Regions from separate parts of the Homo sapiens genome. Here region 2 is linked to region 1. Evidence: promoter capture Hi-C in human tissues and cell types (Jung and others, 2019). All regions are on one chromosome and are shown on one strand. The core of a region is centred on a gene start or on the middle of the fragment in contact, and the rest is flanking DNA. Distances in the headings are between cores, read along the strand shown.

The links. The method cuts DNA at HindIII sites, captures the fragments that hold promoters and counts their contacts. A contact is called where the count stands out against the background at its distance.
Region 2: a fragment that was not itself captured here is called in contact with the fragment with the promoter of SLC15A2 in region 1 in 1 of the 25 tissues and cell types used here (thymus).

What each region holds. Positions count from the first base shown.
Region 1 is chr3:121,889,688-121,897,130 of GRCh38, forward strand. It overlaps SLC15A2 (solute carrier family 15 member 2), which reads left to right and starts at 4,714. Exons shown (of 22, transcript NM_021082.4): 1 at 4,714-4,894; 2 at 6,719-6,806. The coding sequence starts at 4,790. RefSeq lists enhancers at 3,140-3,673, 3,674-4,206. The HindIII fragment of the contact is 16,247 bases long and covers 1-6,915 here.
Region 2 is chr3:122,069,253-122,076,695 of GRCh38, forward strand. The region is part of intron 1 of CD86 (CD86 molecule); the gene reads left to right. Among named protein-coding and RNA genes, the nearest start is that of CD86, 18 kb to the left of the region's middle. RefSeq lists an enhancer at 5,444-5,783. The HindIII fragment of the contact is 6,239 bases long and covers 1,216-7,443 here.

The DNA of each region.
Region 1 (7,443 bases), core at 3,464-5,963:
TCTCCTGCCTCAGCCTCCAGAGTAGCTGGGATTACAGGCGCCGGCCACCACGCCTGGCCAGTTTTCGTATTTTTAGTAGAAATGAGGTTTCACCATGTTGGTCAAGCTGATCTCAAACTGCTGACCTCAAGTGATCCTCCCCCCTCAGCCTCCCAAAGTACTGGGATTACAGGCCTGGCAGTCTCAGTTAATTTAGAAAGTTTGTTTTACCAAGGCTGAGGACTAGCTGGTGACACAGCCTCAGGAAGTTCTGATGACTTGTGCCCAAGGTGGTTGGGACATAGCTGGTTTTTTACATTTTAGGGAGATATGAGACATCAATCAATATATGTAAGAAATACATTAGTTCCGTCCAGAAAGGTGGAGACTATTTTTCTTTCTTTCTTTTTTTTTTTTTTGAGACGGAGTCTCTGCTCTGTCGCCCAGGCAAAAGAATATTTTTCCATTTACCTATTAATCTTTTTGTTATTGATTTATGCAGTTACTTATATAATCTGGACACAAATCCTTTGACAGATATATGTAACACAAATATTTTCTTCCCCTCTGTAAATTGTCTTTTGACAATTTGCAGAGTGGTCAACAAAAGTTCTTAATTTTAATATTGTCCAACATCTCTTTTTTTTCTTTCATGGTTACCATATTTTATATCTTATTTAAGAAATGCTGGCCAGGTACAGTGGCTCATGCCTGTAATTCCAGCACTTTGGGAGACCGAGGTGGGCTGATCACGAGGTCAGGAGTTTGAGACCAGCCTGACCAACATGGTGAAATCCCGTCTCTACTAAAAATACAAAAATTAGCCAGGCGTGGTGGCGCGTGCCTGTAATCCCAGCTACTCAGGAGGCTGAGGCAGGAGAATAGCTTGAACCCGGGAGGCGGAGGTTGCAGTGAGATCATGCCACTGCATTCCAGCCTGGGCGACAGAGCAGAGACTCCGTCTCAAAAAAAAAAAGAAAGAAAAAAAAGAAATGCTGACTTACTCCACAATCATAAAGATGTTCTCTTATGTTTTCCTCTAAAGACATTTTTTTTTACTTTAACATTTAGATAGGCAATCTATATAGAAATTATTTTTGTGTATGTTGTAAAATAAGGGTCAAAATAATTTAGGGGGTATGGATATTCAAATGGTGTTTATTTATTGAAATCAACATCATTTCCTTCACTGTATTACAGCATCATCTTTGTTATATACATTATGTGTGTGAATCACTTTCTGAACGCTGTGTTGTTTCATTGGTTGCCCTATGTTATCTGTGTCAATTCCACTCTGATATAATAACTATCTTTAAAATAGGTCTTAGATTGGGTAATACAATCCTCCACCATTATTCTTTAAGATTGACTTTGCTATCCTTGGCTCTTTGCACTTCCAAGTTGACTTTAAAAAGTCATCTTGTCATTTTCTATACTCACAAAACCTGCTGGGATTTTGTTTTAGAACTGTAGAATGTTTTGAGAAATGTTGACATCTTTACAATATGAGCCTTCCAATTCATAAGCATGGTATGTTTCCATTTATTTAGATCTTCTTCAATTTCTTTCAGTAAAATTTTATAGTTTTTAATATTGAGGTCTAGAAGATCTTTTGTTAGATTTATTCCTAAATCTATTTATATAAATAAATATATAAATGTATTCCTTAGATTTCCCTTTTCTATTTCTTTGTGACTGATGTTTGATACAATTTATTTTTGTGTATTTTAATTTAGAGAACTTGTTAAATATATGTTCCCTTTTAATTTCATATTTTCCTCTTCTCTCTGACTATATTAGATTCTATTAACTTAGAGCAGCAGTCTACTTTTGTGTATATATAACTAAAACTTTATCATATGTCATAATAAATGTTTTCTGATGTTGTAATCACTAAGGACACAAATATTCTTTACTCATCACTGATACTTAGATTCTTTCACTTTTATTGTTTGTCTCAGAATAGTTGGTGCTCATTTCTGTCTGGGAGGTGCTTTCTTTTTATCTCTTCTCTTTCTCCTTCTATCTGATGTTAGCAAAATAATAGGATTTAAGAGCCATCTTAATATTATATAAATGGCTCAAGACTATGCCTTGGGAGCCTAGGGTTCCAGTCCTTGCTTTGTCCCTTCTGAGTTCCTCTGAAATAGAATAGGAGAGAATTTATGACCAGTGTTTCCCAAATTCCTAGCGTAAGAATTGCTAGAGGTGCTCGTTGAAAACAAAGATTCTTAGATCCCTACCGAGATCTACTGAATTGGAATTTCCAAAGGAAAATGATTCTTATCCTCAGGGAAGTTTCACTCACATAGGACAAGATTAAGATTCCTTCCATCTCTGATATTATTCGATTCTGTGAATACTATCATTATACTGCCATAATCAAAAGAAGAATTTTGTCTAAACAAAGGAGTGTCAGAAAACCACTGCCAATACTCCAAAGTTTAGTATTTGGGATACCTATGAGCACAAATAAATTGGTACATTGCATACAGGTGCTATTCCATCTACTCTGCCAGATCAAGGAAAGCCACAACATAAGTGGATCTTCAAGGCATCTGTGCCTCTGCTAGTTAACTTGACTAGTAACTTCTGACCATTTATTTTCCAGCCAAAGTCATTAACCAAACCAATTCAGAAATGGCAGTGCTTCCTGAAAGAATAACTATACCTTAATTATTAATGCCACAGTCAGAAATGAAGCTGGACTCTTCTTTGGGTAAAGGTTGGTGGGAGACAGTAGAAATGAGGGGTGTAATAGAAGCTGAGAAGATATGGTCAAAGTCTGAGTTAAAGTTTAGAGAGGAAAAGACAGTTTATCCTGGCCCTATTTGTCAATAAATTATTTGAATAGTTAAAGTAAAAATTTTGTGAGGGATAGAGTTATAGGTTTTCTCTCTTGTATTTTCAAATAAAATAATTCATTCTGATGTTGCCTGACCTTGTTGATTTAGTCTTCATTTTTCTTATTTCTTTTATAGCTCTCTAGCCTTTCTTTTCCCTTTTCTTTTGACAAACAACTAGAGGGGCACCATGCTCTTTTCTTATCCTTTTACTTCTTTGGCTTGACAAAAATAACACAGCATAAAATGCACCTAGCATTATGATGTTTGTTCTTGTTCCTCTTCTGATAAGGACTAAATGTATAATTAAGGAAAATGGTGTTCACAACAGTACCTAGAAAGTAACTGGTTCACAATTTTTGCTCAAATTAAATTTTATTTATTAAATGAAAGAATAGATTAATCTTGAAGTGAGAAAATGAAAATATAAGGAGTGACTTTAGCAAAGAAGAACAATGGTTCCCAAATGTATATCACCAATCCTTTTCTCTCATTTTCTTTAGCCCCACCTCTTTAATTGCTTATAGGCTATTTCTAGCTGAACTTTTATGATGTTGAAAACAAAAGTCTCCTTCCTTCCTTCCTTTCTTTTCTTTTCTTTCTTTCCTTTCTTTCCCTTCTTTTCTTTCTTTCTTTCCTTTCTTTCCCTTCTTTTCTTTCTTTCTTTCAAGTCTTGCTCCGTCGCCCAGGCTGGAGTGCAGTGGTGGGGTCTCGGCTCACTGCAACCTCTGCCTCTTGGGTTCAAACGATTCTCCTGCCTCAGCCTCCTGAGTAGCTGGGACTACAGGCGCGTGCCACCACACCCAGCTAATTTTTGTATTTTTAGTAGAGATGGGGTTTCACTATGTTGGCCAGGCTAATCTTGAACTCCTGAGCTGTGATCAGCCCACCTCGGCCTCCCAAAGTGTTGGGATTACAGGCGTAAGCCTCTGCACCCAGCCAAAACTCACCATCTTTCTTATCTTCCAAACTCAGTTTTATGATGACTTTCCTTCTCCAATGCATTTTAATCCTCTGCATTCCTACATTCCATTTATGTAACCTCCATACCTGAATAATGACTGACACTAACTCCACTTTTCCCAGCTGTCATGGCATAGTGAAAATTCCAGATCTGCCACTTAGTGGACAGGTACTTTGAACAAATTTCTTAACCTCTGGGAACATTACTTTCTATAAAATGGGGATAGTAATATGAATTAGAATAAATATATATGTTATAGATATACAACATAGATGTAATTCATATATATTAACCTTTCAATAGTAGATGTTCAATAAATTACAGCTATTGTTACCCTGAAATCAGTTTTTCTTTTTTTTTTTTTTTGGAAATGGAGTTTCGCTCTTGTTGCCCAGGCTGGAGTGCAATGGTGCAATCTCAGCTCACCGCAACCTCCGCCTCCCAGGTTCAAGTGATTCTTCTGCCTTAGCCTCCTGAGTAGCTGGGATTATAGGCGCCCGCCACCACACCCAGCTAATTTTTTTTTTGTATTTTTAGTAGAGACGGGGTTTCACCATGTGGGCCAGGCTGCTGACCTAAAACGATCCGCCTGCCTGGGCCTTCCAAAGTGCTAGGATTATATGCGTGAACCACCGCGCCTGACCATGGAATCAGTTTTTCAATCTGTGCTCGAGGTGTTGTGTTCTTAACTATCTTCTACTCCTTTGCAAAGATAATCTTTCTTAAACATAGACTTTCTAATCAGTTCTCTAGCATTGTTTCATTCTGTCTTTGGCATGTTTTCACTTTGCTGTGCTGTACTTTTACACATTCTTTTTAACTATAGCTTCCTGCTTTGCTCTGGATCAGGAAGCTATTGAAGCTGACACCCACAGAGTTAAACTGAGTTGCTGAAGCCACCAGCTCCCCCTCCCAGTCCTTCTTTTCAGAGTAGGCTGGCAGCTGTCCTAACTGCCTACTAAAGCCAAATGCTTGAGGAGAGAGAGAGAGTAAGGAGCCAGCCATGAATCCTTTCCAGAAAAATGAGTCCAAGGAAACTCTTTTTTCACCTGTCTCCATTGAAGAGGTACCACCTCGACCACCTAGCCCTCCAAAGAAGCCATCTCCGGTGAGTCCTTAGATTCAATCCTGCCTCTGAGAGGAATGGCCTCCCTCTTTTGGCTCTCTTCCTTGGGCTCTGGAGCTTCCAGCTGAGCTGTATTAGGGTATTAAAATGCTTCTCTCTTGGATTTAGAATTCACCTGAAACCAAATCTAAACAGAAGCTTCCTTTACATAAGAAGACAAAGCAGCAGGAAGAGGTAGTCAAAGTTCTTCAGTTGGGATCCAGGGACTTGCTGAATTTCATTGCATATTCTGTTTCCCTGGGGGAAAAAAGCAATTCGAATGTCCAGGGAAACTTGGCAAGCATTCTTGTCTGAAGAACTGTGTGTGATTGTTCTTTCTTTACCAATATAAAAACTCTGCCCTTAGTTCTCCCTGTGTGCAGAGTCTTCTGCTGAACACCAATGGAAGTTTCAGAATAGATCCAATTTCTGTTACTATGTGTTCCCAGTTTACTGTGGGAGATAGGACAGAGAAACAGAGAATAGTAATGTTTTGCATTTATATACTCGCTAAAGCACTTCTAAACTCATCATCTCAGTCAATTCTTACACTAAAATTCTGTAAGTGGGGAGGATATAGTAATGATAGCCAAAATTTACTGAGTTCTTACAGTGGGCCAAAAGGTGATGTTATTCTCATTTCTTTGGAATAACAGAACAGAGGTTTTGAGACAGGTGTAGTGACAATGCCAGTATCAGTATGTTAACACAGCCAGTGGCAGTGTTGCCTAACTAGCTAACAGTGTGTCGGCTAAACTCCAGATTGCATAATTCTCAAGCTGTGAGCTGCAAAGGTAAGAAGCCCAGTTCATTGTATGTTTCAAACAAGCTATTATAAAACATTAAAATATATTAATATTTAGGAGGATCATTTATATATATCCCTAGGGTTAAAAGAATAATACATTACTTTATTATTTTGCCTATTTTTTTAGTTAATGATATCTCTTCTGGTCCCAAAGAATTTAGGGCTACTTGCAAAGATGTATATACTTCTCATGAAATGAGGCAATATAAATCTTACAAGATTTGACTGTACTGAGGACAGATACCTCTATGTCTCTTCTCATGTTAGTTGGTCTATTGTAATAGATAGGGAATTAAAATAAAACATAACATTCCTTATATTCTGACTGATATATTACATGAAAAGCATAATTCTTTTAATGTCCAGTAGGATTATCATGAAAATGTTATAGAATCTCTTTAGTAGGAAGAGTAGACATTTAATTTTACAGGATTTAAGAACTCTGCCTAAAGTCAAGGTGATCAATTAGCTTACCCTTAGGAATCTCTGTCCTCCATGTTGGGCTCTGTGCCTGACTCCAGCAGCCTCTGAAGTAGAAGCTATCATATTGCCAGGATTCCTCCCAGCATGGCAAACAGAACAGCTGGGGACAAGAGTCCCCATAGTGGGGCTAAGCAGAGACTGACATCTGAATCTCACTGCTTGGATATCAGGTATTCCATAGGCTACCTCTTTATTCTGTTCCTAGGAAGTAAATATCACCATTCTTCTGCCCCAGAGCCCTAGGCTTTTCATTTAGTAGTTGTGGGAAGATGAGCAGGTCCAAGGAATATTTGAGCAAGTCCATGTAAAATAAATAAGAAACAAAATAATATTCAGAGTAGCTTCTATTATTTCTAAATCAGTAATATAAGCACTTTTAGTGTTACCTAATAGGTGTGTCATGAAGAGTAGAGACCATTGCTCCATTACCTACCAAGATGATTTGAAATAAATGAATTTTTCAGTTTTGAAGAAATCTAATTGTTGAAACAGGGAAAAACAGCTCATGCTTGAATCATTGCCTTCTTGTTGAATAGACAATCTGTGGCTCCAACTATCCACTGAGCATTGCCTTCATTGTGGTGAATGAATTCTGCGAGCGCTTTTCCTATTATGGAATGAAAGGTAATTTTGTGTCCAAGAGTCCTACCTACTCTCCTCCACCCACCCTCACCCCATGTTTGTGACAGCCTGGTCTCTTTATATGCACTTATTTCCCGAGTCCACTCTTTCTGCCTTGGTCCAAATTGGTCCTTTACTTTGGCCAAGACTTCCAATAAATCTCTCATAGGATTTCACCTAATATGTAGGCCAAGATCAGAAAGGCCTGAGACAAACCAGAACATAGACTTTGAGAATGGGTAAGTGGGTGGAGCTGGGCATGATGGCATGTGCCTGTAGTCGCCACTACTTGGGAGGCTGAAGCAGGAGGATTGCTTGGGCCCAGGAGTTCAAGGTTATCAGGCACCTGTAATTGTGCCAGTGAATGGCCACTGCACTCCAGCCTGGGCAACATAGCAAGAACTCATCTCCAAAAAAAAAAAAAAAAAAGGGGGGGGAGGGAAAGCTCTCATTATCTCAGTTACATTTTTCATACCTGTTCCTCAGGTATGAGCTAACAGCTCTTGGCTAAGGGCTCATACCTGAGGAACAGGTATGAAGAATGGAATTCAGATAAGAGGTCTTATCATCTTGTTGCTGGGAAGGAGAGGAGAGGGAAGGGATATTGGAAGCACCATGTTATGTTCATGGTTGGCCTAAA
Region 2 (7,443 bases), core at 3,085-5,584, 180 kb after region 1:
TAAGCATTTGTTAATTGAATGAAGGAAATTAAAAAAAAAAAAACTAGAAATTCCAAATTGTGCAATTACATCTGTGAATTTTAAGGTGTTATTGGAAAATGGGAAAAATTACTGAGATTCGAAGATGGATAGGAACAAAGGTAAAGCATGAAAATGTGCATATTTGTGTGTTGCTAGAGTCAATAGTGATTGCCAGTTCCTATGCAGCCCTGGCACCACCTCTGAAACCTTGGCCAACCCCTGCCATTAGGTGTTGAGATACACGACAGGCAGGTGAGGAAGGAGGGGTGCTCTGGATGTAGTCTTGCCGCTAGACTGTGGTCTTTAGTGTCCATGTCCATGGGGTGAGTTGTGAGCCCATCAGTTTCCCACACTACAGTCCTTCTCTGGCTTAGCCTTCCTTCCCTGTCCTGTGGTCCAGGTTACCCCTGGCCCCTGTGGCCTTCCTCCAGAGATGGACCTTCCTCCACACACTTCTCAGGAGCTCCTGATTCTAGGCATGCCCCAGAACACCGCAACTCCACTCTGCCCTGTCTCCATCAGACCAGAGACCTCACTTAGACCCTGGGTATGGGGTTGTTGGTTCTCCACTTGCTGCGGTTGTCACTAGCCTGAGCTCTATCCTGAGCTCTGTCCATCCTTCTCATCTTCCTCATTGCCCTTTCTGCTAAAGCAACTGCACATCTGAAGGCTATACTTATCCCTAGTACAATGGTACTTTTTCTAAAATGCATACACCCTAATGCTTACCCTTTTGACAATTTTTTCCTGAACCTACCTTTTAATATAAGCAAATTCAGTCTTCAATTCAAATAAGTGTATTTTGCTGCTGAAGCCACCATGTGATTTTGAGAGATAGTGAAGACAGACAGTCTTCTGCATTCACTTGTAGAATCCTGAAAATACCTCTTGGTGTCCCTTGCCTTTCTGACTTCTTGCTTGAAGACATCTAGACAAAAATGTGTCCCTGGGTCCTAGTTTCTGGGTTCAGAAATTGATCGAATGCAAGAAAACAATACACATTGCCTCTTCCTTAGCATGCATGAATGGTAGGTGTGAATTTGCATCATGAGAAAGTAAATAAAAGAAGATTCCCCAGGGCAGCTAGGGAGGCAGAAAAAGCCAGCCTAGGATGGGAGTGGAGGACATGTTAGAGGTTATGAGAGTGAGGGTCCATCCTACCCCACCTCGGTAACTCACTGGTATGGTATAAATGCAAAATTTTGGCTCACACAAAGAAAAATACTCAACTTCTAATGCTTAACTATGTAAAATTTGCTTTTAAAGTACAAGTTAAAATTGTATCGCCCCTCAAAGAAACAAGAAACTCATTACATTTCTAAGAATGTTCCTTCAGAAACATGGAACTGAAAGCTATTTTTAAAAATTGATCTGGCCCTTAGAAAACTGGGGCCTTTTCTTTAATTTACCTAAGGAATTGACATAAAAGTCTAGGGTTCTGCACCAGAAAAATGCAGAAAGTGTCAAAATAAAAGGCAGAAATACAAAAGGAGACTTTTTGCAGCAACGTTCTATGTATAGCATTGATTCCAAGGGTGCAACATAGGGAAGTGAACATGTGGACTGTGAAATTGATGCTAATTTTCTTTCCCACTAGTCTAGCAGCCCTCTAAAATGTCACATTATTAATTTAGTTACTTTACCAGAAATCCGTGTATGTGGTTAGCATGTGTGTTTTTTTTTAATTAACAGACTTTACTTATTTTTAGAACAGTTTTAGATTTTCAAAAAATTGAGCACATAGTACGAGAATTCCCATCTACTCCCTTTGTGGAACACAATTTCCCCTATTTTTACCATCTTGCATTAGTGTGATGTATTTCTTACGATCAAGCCATTGTTGCTTCATTATTATTATTATTTAAAGCCCATAATTTACATTAAGTTTCTCTCTTTGGGTTGTACAGTTCTATGGATTTTGACAAATACACAATGTCATGTATCCACCATTATAGTATCATACAGAATAGCTTCACTGCCCTAAGAATCCCCTGTGCTCTGCCTGTTGACCCTTCCCACCCCTCCCCAACCCCTGGAAACCACTGATCTTTTTACTGTCTCCACAGTTTTGCCTTTTCCAGAATGTTCTATCTTTGGAATCATACAGTATGTACCCTTTTCAGATTGACTTCTTTCATTAAGCAATATGAATTTAAGTTTTCTCCATGTCTTTTCACATCTTGATGGCTCATTTCTATTTATTACCACATAATATTCCATTGTCTGGATATACCACAGCTTTACCAACTGAGGGGCATCTTAGTTGCTAATTATGAATAAAGTGGCTATACATATTCACGTGTAGGTTTTGTGTGGACATAAGTCTTCAATTCAATTGAGTAAATATACCTAGAAGTGTGACTGCTGGATCATATGGTAAGAGTATATTTACTTTTTTAAGAAACTGCTAAACTATATCCCAAAGTAGTTTTACCATTTTGCATTCTTTTCTTTATTTTTTTTTTATTATACTTTAAGTTTTAGGGTATGTGTGCACAATGTGCAGGTTAGTTACATATGTATACATGTGCCATGTTGGTGTGCTGCACCCATTAACTCATCATTTAGCATTAGGAGGTAAATCTCCTAATGCTATCCCTCCCCCCTCCCCCCACCCCACAACAGTCCCCAGAGTGTGATGTTCCCCTTCCTGTGTCCATGTGTTCTCATTGTTCAACTCCTATCTATGAGTGAGAACATGCGGTGTTTGGTTTTTTGTCCTTGCGGTAGTTTACTGAGAATGATGATTTCCAATTTCATCCATGTCCCTACAAAGGACATGAACTCATCATTTTTTATGGCTGCATAGTATTCCATGGTGTATATGTGCCATATTTTCTTAATCCAGTCTATCATTGTTGGACATTTGGGTTGGTTCCAAGTCTTTGCTATTGTGAATAGTGCCACAATAAACATACGTGTGCATGTGTCTTTATAGCAGCATGATTTATAGTCCTTTGGGTATATACCCAGTAATGGGATGGCTGGGTCAAATGGTATTTCTAGTTCTAGATCCCTGAGGAATCGCCACACTGACTTCCACAATGGTTGAACTAGTTTACAGTCCCACCAACAGTGTAAAAGTGTTCCTATTTCTCCACATTCTCTCCAGCACCTGTTGTTTCCTGACTTTTTAATGATTGCCATTCTAACTGGTGTGAGATGGTATCTCATTGTGGTTTTGATTTGCATTTGTCTGATGGCCAGTGATGGTGAGCATTTTTTCATGTGTCTTTTGGCTGCATAAATGTCTTCTTTTGAGAAGTGTCTGTTCATATCCCTTGCCCACTTTTTGATGGGGTTGTTTGTTTTTTTCTTGTAAATTTGTTTGAGTTCATTGTAGATTCTGGATATTAGCCCTTTGTCAGATGAGTAGGTTGCAAAAATTTTTTCCCATTTTGTAGGTTGCCTGTTCACTCTGATGGTATTTTCTTTTGCTGTGCAGAAGCTCTTTAGTTTAATTAGATCCCATTTGTCAATTTTGGCTTTGGTTGCCATTGCTTTTGGTGTTTTAGACATGAAGTCCTTGCCCATGCCTATGTCCTGAATGGTAATGTCTAGGTTTTCTTCTAGGGTTTTTATGGTTTTAGGTCTAATGTTTAAGTCTTTAATCCATCTTGAATTGATTTTTGTATAAGGTGTAAGGAAGGGATCCAGTTTCAGCTTTCTGCATATGGCTAGCCAGTTTTCCCAGCACCATTTATTAAACAGGGAATCCTTTCCCCATTGCTTGTTTTTCTCAGGTTTGTCAAAGATCAGATAGTTGTAGATATGCGGCCTTATTTCTGAGGGCTCTGTCACTATACATCTACTAGAATGGGTAAAATCCAAAAATCTGACAATACCAAATGCTGCTGAGGATGTGGAGCAACAGGAAGCCTCATTGCTCCACATCCTCAGCAGCATTTGGTATTGTCAGATTTTTGGATTTTAGCCATTCTACTAGATGTGTAGTGGTATCTTACTGTTTTAATTTGCAATTCTCTAATGAGGTATGATGCTGACCACCTTTTCATATGCTTATTTGCTGTCCGTGTACCTTCTTTGGTGAGGTATATGTTCAGATCTTTTGCTCCTTATTAAATTGGGCTGTTTGTTCTTTTATCTTTGAGTTATAAGAGTTCATTGTGTATTTTGGATACCAGCCCTTTATCAGATATATCTTTTGCAAATATTTTTTCCCCAATCTTTGGCGTGTCTTTTTATTCATATAATGGTTGATACATGTTTCTGCTTTAAGGAGGAAGGGTTTTAAAAATACAATTTACAGTAGCAGTAAAAATAAAAATTTATTGCAAATGTCTTATGTTCACTCTCAGGTGATGTCAGGGAACTATGGACCCAGCAGGGTTTAATTAAAGGGGAGTGTCAAGTCCTGGGGGCTGTGGTTGACAATCCTCCTTTATTGGCAATTGTGCAGCAGGGCTGGGAGTAAGAAGACAACCCAGTCCTGAGCTGCATCACTTCTAAATTAAGAATAATTCAGGAACTGTGTTTACGGTGAAATCCTGGCCCTTCTCACATAGATTATATTATGCATAGGATATGAATTTCTGTCCATGAATCCAAGTATATATGAAATCATCACTTTGAAAATTTCCTTTAACTCAACTTAATCCCACTGGTGAGCCTCAATCCTGCCAGTTGAAAAAGAGACTGTAACTGGGTCATGCAGGAGTCTCCTTCCTTTCCTGCAGCCCAGTCAGAATTCAAGAAGTTCACCTGGTAACTGGAAAATGATGGAAGGGCCTCAAGTCCCTAGTCTGTCCTGGTTGCCATTGGCACCCTTACTATCTGAGCCCATAGTGGTCTGTGAAGTCCGGCAGCTCCCTGCCCCCATGCCACAGTGGGGAATGAGAATATCTACTGATGCTGGGCCCCATGAGCAAAGCATGCTGCCTTTCTAGGCATGAGCCATCACACCTGAGGTTGCTACCCCCTCGGGAGCACTGATGGAGGGGCAGTTGGGTTTCTACTGCTCACAGGACCCAGACAACCATCCCCTGCCCTCCCTTCTTCTTGCACTTCAAAAGCACTCTCTTCCTCTCTTTTCACCTCTAAGCCACCGGTATCATCTCTTCCATGGGCTTTCACAAAAGTCTGGATGAACCTTTGAACTTGTATCTCTTCTGCTTTCCCCCTTGCATCAAGAAAGCTTAGAAAACAAACACTAATTAACGTTTCAATAAATAATGCTGCTCTAATTATTTGTGGAAACTATTCTGTATTAGAACTACCATCAGCACCGCCTCCTAGAGTGCTTTTAGACTTGACCACTGGCCGCAGGAGGCCACTTCCATATAACAACAAACAGATGGCTGAAATTGGAAAACTCAGCTAAATGTTCAGATGTTTCTAGACTCCCACGGGTTTCTGGCTCTGGCACATGGAGTAGATCCTGACTGTGTGGTCCTCAGGGGACTCTCTCTGGTGAAGTTTGGTGAGGTCAACTTCCACACCCACACACACCAGCTACTGTGTGTAGCCTGTCCTCCTCTGGTTGCTTCTACTTGCAGCCTTGGCCTCTTCAGTCCTGAGAGCGTTGGAGAATGAGGCAGTGGAGGAAGCAGCCCCACACAGAAAGCAGTTTCTGAAGTAACCTCAGCAACTTCCTCCTCACCAAACACAAGGAACTGATCTTCTCCACTGGGCTCGGCCTCTGGTCAGCCAAGGACAACACTGTTGACCACCATCACGGTTGGCCCCACTCCACCCTTGGCTCTGATGACATATGTGGGAGTCAGAGGAATTTTGATTGGCTGACTGCTGGCCTGTCACACAAACAAGATGGGGCAAGGGGGTTGCGATATGACTTGACATGTGAAAAAAAAAAAAGCCGTGGTCAGCAACCCCCTGCAACTGTTGAAAGGCTAATTCAATCTCTGACTCTTTAACAAAAGTGATCTTGTTCACTGCCTGTTCTGCCCTGAGAGCCTTCTCTGCTAGGAGGTAGGTTGACTGACTCAGGGAGAAGGGTGCTGGTGGCAGAGCTGCCAATGGGTGAGGGTCCTAGAGACTATCGACATGAGGGGCAGTTGAGAACACTGTAGTATTTAGCTGAGAGGAGAGACTATTAATAAAATTTACAAAATCAGCTTTCAGCTATTTGGAAGGGTTTATATAAAAGGATAAAATAATATGTTCTGGTAGTTCTAGAAAACAGGACAGAGACAAGTAGCTGGTACTTATGGATTGGAGGAGTGAGTGGCAGTAGTTTGGGGATTATTTATAAAAAAGACATTTTTCTGTTAACTCTCTTTTCTAATAGTGAATTTCCCAACCTGACAAGTAAGAAAGCACAGGCTAGACACGCATCTGTCATGACACTGAAGGGGTCCTTGCTTGAGTGAGAGACTGGAATGATGAGTTTTGAGGTCCCTTACAGTCCAGCAACTCTAGCTAAGTTGGAGAATAAGAGAATTCCATGACACCATATCACCCCCTCATTTCTGCTGCCTGCCTCACCATTCATCTCTCTTTACTCCTTTTAATATCATTCTACGTTACAGCATTGGAGGAGGCTGCTCTAAATAGGAACTGAAATAAGTAGATTAAAGAAGTGCTATGGAAGGGAAAACAATAAAACAACTTGTTTTTTAAGAGCCTACTATTGCCAGGATCTGTGCTAAGCACCATATATATGCCATGTTATTTAACCGTCATGACATGCCTATGAGATATTTAGTATTACTTCTGTGAGGAAGCCAAAGCTCAGAGAGGTTAAATAACTGCCCCAAGAACACACAGGCATTAAGTAGTGGAGCAGGGTTTGAACACAGGTCTCTATGACTCCAAAGTGCAGTGTGATATGTTATTTTTACTGATCTGTTTATGGAAAATGATACTGCTTTCTAATTTAGTATTAACACAAAGATTTTTTTCTAAATAGATTTACTTAAAGTATGTTATAAAAATACTATATAAATAATGAAACAGATTTTACATGAGTATGAAGTGGTACTAGTAGCTAGAATGATGAAAGTTTGGGGAATACTACTCCAAATATTTTGATAGCTAGCCTTTCAATTTAGCCTGTCTTATATTTGGACTGCTGAGTACAAGGAAAAGAAGGAAACATGAAAATTAAGTGAAATATGAGTTACTTCCCCTGTGCTCTGATAGGTGGGTAATTGATCATATGTCACAATAAGAAAATCAAATGAACCCTTTCAAACAACAGCAAAATCTGTGATTGTAAAATCCAGAGGAAAACCCCAGGTGGGATCTATCTGTATGAAGGATGAAATTTCCAAGGTCTGAACATAGAATGGCTGAGAGGAAGTGATGACCCTGTGAGTCAAGACCCTGGACCCTGGGGGAGCCCTGTGGGTTTGAGAAGCCCTGGGTGAAAGGTGAAGGGTTTTACAGGCCTGTTTACAGACCTCTGTAGTGACAGAAGGGAGATCTTTGTGCAAAGGTCAA